2 separate regions of the Homo sapiens genome follow, and region 1 is linked to region 2. Evidence: promoter capture Hi-C in 16 types of primary human blood cells and fetal thymus (Javierre and others, 2016). All regions are on one chromosome and are shown on one strand. Each heading gives the region's core, a stretch centred on a gene start or on the middle of the fragment in contact. The rest is flanking DNA. Distances are from core to core; before and after follow the strand shown.

Region 1 (3,058 bases), core at 1-2,500, 98 kb after region 2:
AATTAGCCGGGGGTGGTGGCAGGCACCTGTAATCCCAGCTATTTGGGAGGCTGAGGCAGGTGAATCACTTGAACCCAGGAGACAGAGGTCACAGTGAGCCTAGATCGTGCCATTGTATTCCATCCAGCCTGAGCAATGAGAGCAAAACTCCTTCTCAAAAAAAAAAAAAAAAAATTAACCAACCGAACAAAAAATATATGGGATTGCAAATGACCACCCCCTGGGTGACTGCTCAACAGATGATTATTTCACCCTTTTTTACCTGGGTGCCAGCTGTCCTGAGCCCATCTCCAGGGGTAAATTAGCTGTGGGACCTAGTTGTGGCCTCTGGATTGTGTTGGAGAGTGTAGGCCGTGGTTCTTGGCTAGAGTTCCTAGGAAACCAGAGTAGACAGTAAAGAGGGGGTGGAGAGGGAGGAAGGGGGGAGAGAGAGAGAAAGAGAAGAATAAGATTCTGTATGTAAAGCTCTATAGATTCATCTGTAGGTGGAACAATCAATAAATCCTTCATTAAAGTCCTATCCTATAGTTAATCTAGGGTGTCAGTTTCAGCAAACAGAAACCATGTTCTATGACACAGGGGTCATCTTGTTGGGTTCTAACTCCTTCTAGGTATTCAAAACCTGGTTATTGTGAATGTGTGTATATATTCATATAAGGTATTTTTTAAAAGCATAGGTAAAAAAATGAAAGTACATACACTGTACATCAACAAAGACTATCTGGAGTGTGAGAATTTTATTCCTTCTCTTTGTATTTTTCAATACTTTCCACATTTTCTATAAAGAATATTTATTTAAAAATAAAATACTGGCCAGGCACGGTGGCTTACACCTGTAATCCTGGCACTTTGGGAGGCTGAGGCAGGGTGGATTGCTTGAGCTCAGGAGTTTGAGACCAGCCTGGGCAACATGGTGAAGCTCCGTCTCTACAAAAAATACAAAAATTAGCAGGCGTGGTGGCGGGCTCCTGTAGTCCCAGATACTCAGGAGACAGATGGGAGGATTGCTTGAGCCTGGGAGGCGGAGGTTGCAGTGAGCTGAGATAGCGCCACCGCACTCCAGCCTGGGTGACAGAGTGAGACACTGTCTCAATGAAACAAACAAACAAACAAATCCCTAAAAGCTAATTAAAATTAATCATGGTAGGGAAAATGATACATAAACATGGAGAAAGCAATTATTTCCAGAAACTCGAGTCCTTCAAACAACTTAAATTTTTAAAAATTTAAACAAAATGGAAACACAAAAATGAAGGCTGTTGTGTAATATAAAGATGCAAAGAGACAAAAATAAAGAACTACAATGACCATGACCATCCACTTGAGTCCTAAGTTAATAAAAATTTCTAACTCAATCCACTCTGTTATACTAAGTTAGTTAGCAAAGAATTAAACTTTACAAGTTCTAAAGACTGAATTGGACAAAACTTGTCACTAGGTATTATTCATATTTGCTAAGTAGTCATAATCTGATCTTCAAGAGGTGGATTCAAGGCCAATTCTACAGAAAGAAAAGATTAAATGGCAAGGTGGTAACCTGACAATTGATACCTACTAGATGGCTACAATAAAAAAAAAAAGGCAATAACAAGTGTTAACAAGGATGTGGAGGAATCAGAGCTCCTGGGAATGCAAAATGATGGGGCAGCTTTGGAAAACAGTTTGGCAGTTCCTCAAAAGGTAAAACAGAGTTACTATGTGGCCAGCAATTCCACTCCTGGGTGGAATTCAAGAGAATAAAAACATATATCCACATAAAAACTAGTAAACAAATATTCATGAAAGCATTTTTTCAGTTCCTTATCCCTATTTTACATATGGAAGCATTTTTGATAACCAAGAAGTAGAAACAACCAAATGTCCATTAACGAACATACAGACAGTATGTGGTATATCCATACAATGAAATCTTATTTGGCAATAAAAAGAAATGAAGTACTGATACATGCTACAACATGTATCAGTACAGATAACCTCTGTAAACATTATACTAAGTAAAATAGGCCAGTTACAAAGGAATTACAAAGTCTATGATTCCATTTATACGAAAAGTCTAGAATAGACAAATTTATAAAGACAACAGATTCATAGTTATACAGAATTTCAGAGCCGGGGGAAAGAACAGGGAATGACTGTTAACTGATCTAGAATTTCTTTTGGGGGAATGAAAATATTCTGAAATTAGACTGCAGTAAGAGTTACATAACTATGTGATATACTAAAAAACACTGTATACTTTAAATGAGTGAGGTATATGGTATGTGAAATATATCTCATAAAACTTTTTAAAAAAGAAACTGAGAAAGAAAACTCAAATAGAAAAGTGCAAAAGAGAGGAACAGTAACTAATGAAAGAGGAGGATGTAGCTATGCTCTAAAGAAAACTGACCAAATCAGGCCCACTGCCTGTTTTTCTAAATAAAGATTTACTGGAACACAGCCCCATTCTTTCATTTGTCTATGACTGTTTTCATGCTACAGCAGAGTTGAGTAGGTGGAATAAAGACCACATGGCCCACAAAGCCTAAAATATTTACTATCTAGCCCCACTTATAGAAAGAGCTTGCCTACCCCTGCTCCAGAGGAAAATCCTGCCAGACTAGAGCAATAAACTGGTGTACAAAACATAGTCCTTTCCAGAAAGAGTTGATACATAGAATTGAAACTAAACCCTTCCATCTCAGGACCTAGTCTCTGAATTATTGTTTGTAAAATCTTACTCTGGCCAGGTGCAGTGGCTTACGCCTGTGATCCTAGCACTTTGGGAGGACGATGGACTGCTTGTGCCCAGGAGTTTAAGACCAGACTCTGCAACATGGAAAAATCCCATCTCTACAAAAAATACAAAAATTAGCCAGGCGTCTTGGTAGATGTCTGTAGTCCCAGCTACTCAGGGGACTGAGGTGGGAGGATCACTTGAGCCTGGGAGGTTCAAGCTGCAGTGAGCCATGATCACACCACTGCATTCCAGCCTGGGTGCCAGAGCGAGACCCTGTCTGAAAAAACAAAACAAAACAAAACAAAACAAAAAAACCTTACTCTACTCTGATCAACTATC
Region 2 (3,210 bases), core at 322-2,821:
CAAATATCTTCATTTCTTAAAACATGCAGTTTCCTGGTATCATAAAACCCTCAAATAGTTGAGCCCTAACTTCCAACAGAGTATTTGAGACTTCAAGAAACAATAAAAGCAGCTATTATTAAGATATACCAAAATACAAGAAATCATACCATGGGAGTCCTCTGCAACTGGGCAGTGGCCATCTTCTTCTGATAAAGTATTTTCTTTAATTCAACCTTGTGACACAAATACAAGCTTTAACTTAGAGCTCATTTTTTTCCTCTAACATTTCAGTTTACCACATATAAAATTCAAAACAATTTTATGTGAATAAATTTGAATTTCTTTAATTAAAATAGAGTCTTCAAAAACGTAGAGGTCGATATTGCAGTAGAACCATTTTGAGTAGGGTCCTGATTTGAAGCCATTTGACTAGCAAGTCTCAAACAAATGGGTTATTAAGAAACTGTTTAAGAGAACTTTTTAAAAAGGCACAATCTTCCTATTTTTATTCCCTATACAAATTCAAACAATGACAACATTGTACAGGTAGGTATTCAGTAATGAAAAATTGCCTGGCAAACCCTCTAAACTTTTTCAGTTTTATTTGTTTTTATTTTTCATTTTTTTGAGACGGAGTTTCGCTCTGTCGCCAGGCTGGAGTGCAGTGGCGCGATCTCAGCTCACTGCAAGCTCCGCCTCCCGGGTTCAAGCGATTCTCCTGCCTCAGCCTCCCGAGTAGCTGGGACCACAGGTGCCCACCATATATATATATACAATTTTTTTTTTCGAGACGGTGTCTCTCTCTGTTGCCCAGGCTGGAGTGTAATGGCGCGATCTCGGCTCACCGCAACCTCCCCCTCTGGGTTCAAGTGATTCTCCTGCCTGAGCCTCCTGAGTAGCTGGGACTCCAGGCGTGCCACCACGCCCAGCTAATTTTTGTATTTCTAGTAGACACGGGGTTTCACCATGTTGGCCAGGAAACTCCTGACCTCGTGATCCGCCCGCCTCGGCCCCCAAGGTGTTGGGATTATAGGCGTGAAGCACCGTGCCCGGCCGCTAATTTTTTTTTCTATTTTTAGTGGAGACGGGGTTTCGCCATGTTGGTCAGGCTGGTCTCAAATGATCCTCCGGCCTCAGCCGCCCAACTTGCTGGGATTACAGGAAGTTGTGTGTCCGGAACCACTGTGTCCGGCCCCAGTTTCACTTTTCTTAATCAGACAATTCAGCTGGAAGAGTTTACTAAAGAGGCAAACTTCATAGAAGAACCTATTTACGTTAAACGTTTAAATTTATCCTGACAAATCCTGAATTCGCCGTCCGTACTCACCCCATCTCAAGAACCTCTGTTGACAAGTAAGTGGGTATACATTTTTACCGCAAATGTTTTACCACTAAGACCTTAAGAAACTTAAAAGTAGGGGGAAGCTGACAGACAAAGAGATTAAAAAGTAAAATATACGCACACACACACAGATATATACACACTAATATATATTACATTACGTCTGAGGGGCGGGCGCCGGAGACCAGAAGAGCTGCACGAGGCTGCACGCGCTGTGCCCGACGCGCATGCGCTTTCCTTCAACGGTCACCCGCTGGGGCGCGACAGTGGCTTTTTGACCCCTGGTCGAGGTCACCTTTCCCGCCAAGCGCAGCGCAAGGCGCACTGGGAGCCTCAGACACGGGAAGCCTCAGCGCCACGTCTCAGGCAGTGGAAAAGCCAGACAGAAGGGGGAAGGTTAAGTAACTGCATGTGCAGTTACTGAATTTCTGATTGTTTTTCTGACTTTTGATTTTCTTTCTTTTTTTTTTTTTTTTTTTTTTGAGACGGAGTTTTGCTCTTGTCGTCCAGGCTGAAGTGCAGTGGCATGATCTTGGCTCACTGCAACCTCTGCCTCCAGGGTTCAAGCAATTCTCCTGCCTCAGCCTCCCAAGTAGCTGGGATTACAGGCGTCCGCCACCATGCCCAGCTAATTTTTGTATTTTTAGTAGAGACGGGGTTTTGCCATGTTGGCCAAGCTGGTCTCAAACTCCCGACCTCAGGTGACCTGCCTCCCTCGGCCTCCCAAAGTGCTGGGATTACAGGCGTGAGCCACCACACCCGGCTGACTTTTGATTTTCTCATTGGAACTACCACAAATTGCATTCCCACCTTCCAATCTCCTGTATCTTCAGGAAACCATTTGCTTTAGCAGTCTTCTACTTAGCCACTTCCACTGTGTTATGTCATTGGGGACAATGGATAGCTTTGAATGTAATTTGTCTCATTTAGAAACAAAATAAAATCAGAGTGGGTAGGTATTAATAGTTGGAGATTATTCAGTAGTACAAGCTTCTTAGTTTACAGATTATTATATATCCAAATACATTTCTTACCAGTGTAAACATTCAATTACAGGCATACCTTGGAGATATTGCAAGTTCAGTTCCAGACCCTCCAATAAAGCAAACAACATAATAAAGCAAATTACACAATTTTTTAGTTTTCCATGTGTATAAAAGTTATGTTGGCTAGATGTGGTGGCTCATGCCAATAATCCCAGCACTTTGGGAGGCTGAGGCGGAACAATTGCTTGAGGCCAGAAATTGGGGATCAGCTTGGGCAACAAAGTGAGACCCTGTCTCTACAAAAAATAAAAAAAATTAGGCAGAGGTTGTGGCACACACCTGTAGTCTCAGCTACTCAGGAGGCTTAGGCAGGAGGATCCCTTGAGCCCAGGAGTTTGCAGTGGCAGTGAGCCCTGTTTGAGCCACTGCACTCCTGCCTAGGCGGCAGTGAGACTTGTTTCAAAAAAAAAAAATTATGGTTACACTATTAATATCTTAATATATATATATAAATTTTTTTTTTTGAGACGGAGTCTTGCTCTGTCTGTCGCCCAGGCTGGAGTGCAGTGGTGCGATCTCGGCTCACTGCAAGCTCCACCTCCTGGGTTCACACCATTCTCCTGCCTCAGCCTCCCAAGTAGCTGGGACTACAGGCGCCCGCCACCACACCCGGCTAATTTTTTTGTATTTTTAGTAGAGACAGGGTTTCACCGTGTTAGCCAGGATGGTCTTGATCTCCTGACCTCGTGATCTGCCCGCCTTGGCCTCCCAAAGTGCTGGGATTACAGGCATGAGCCACTGCGCCCAGCCCTTAATATATTTATTGTACATATCTTATGCTTTCTGTAGTCTGTTAAGTGTGCAGGAGCATAATGTCTAGAAACACAATGCACATACTTT

What was found. Contacts are between HindIII fragments. The CHiCAGO score rates a contact against its expected background, and 5 or more counts as called.
Region 1: a contact is called between a fragment that was not itself captured here and the fragment with the promoter of HORMAD1 in region 2, in 5 of 17 cell types (endothelial precursors, M1 macrophages, M2 macrophages and 2 more). The highest score is 6.8, in endothelial precursors.

The regions. Positions count from the first base shown.
Region 1 is chr1:150,817,658-150,820,715 of GRCh38, forward strand. ARNT (aryl hydrocarbon receptor nuclear translocator) reads right to left here. Exons shown (of 22, transcript NM_001668.4): 15 at 263-373. Among named protein-coding and RNA genes, the nearest start is that of CTSK, 11 kb to the left of the region's middle. The HindIII fragment of the contact is 4,466 bases long and covers 1-3,058 here.
Region 2 is chr1:150,719,324-150,722,533 of GRCh38, forward strand. HORMAD1 (HORMA domain containing 1) reads right to left here and starts at 1,572. Exons shown (of 15, transcript NM_032132.5): 1 at 1,481-1,572; 2 at 150-215. The coding sequence starts at 182. The HindIII fragment of the contact is 2,080 bases long and covers 233-2,312 here.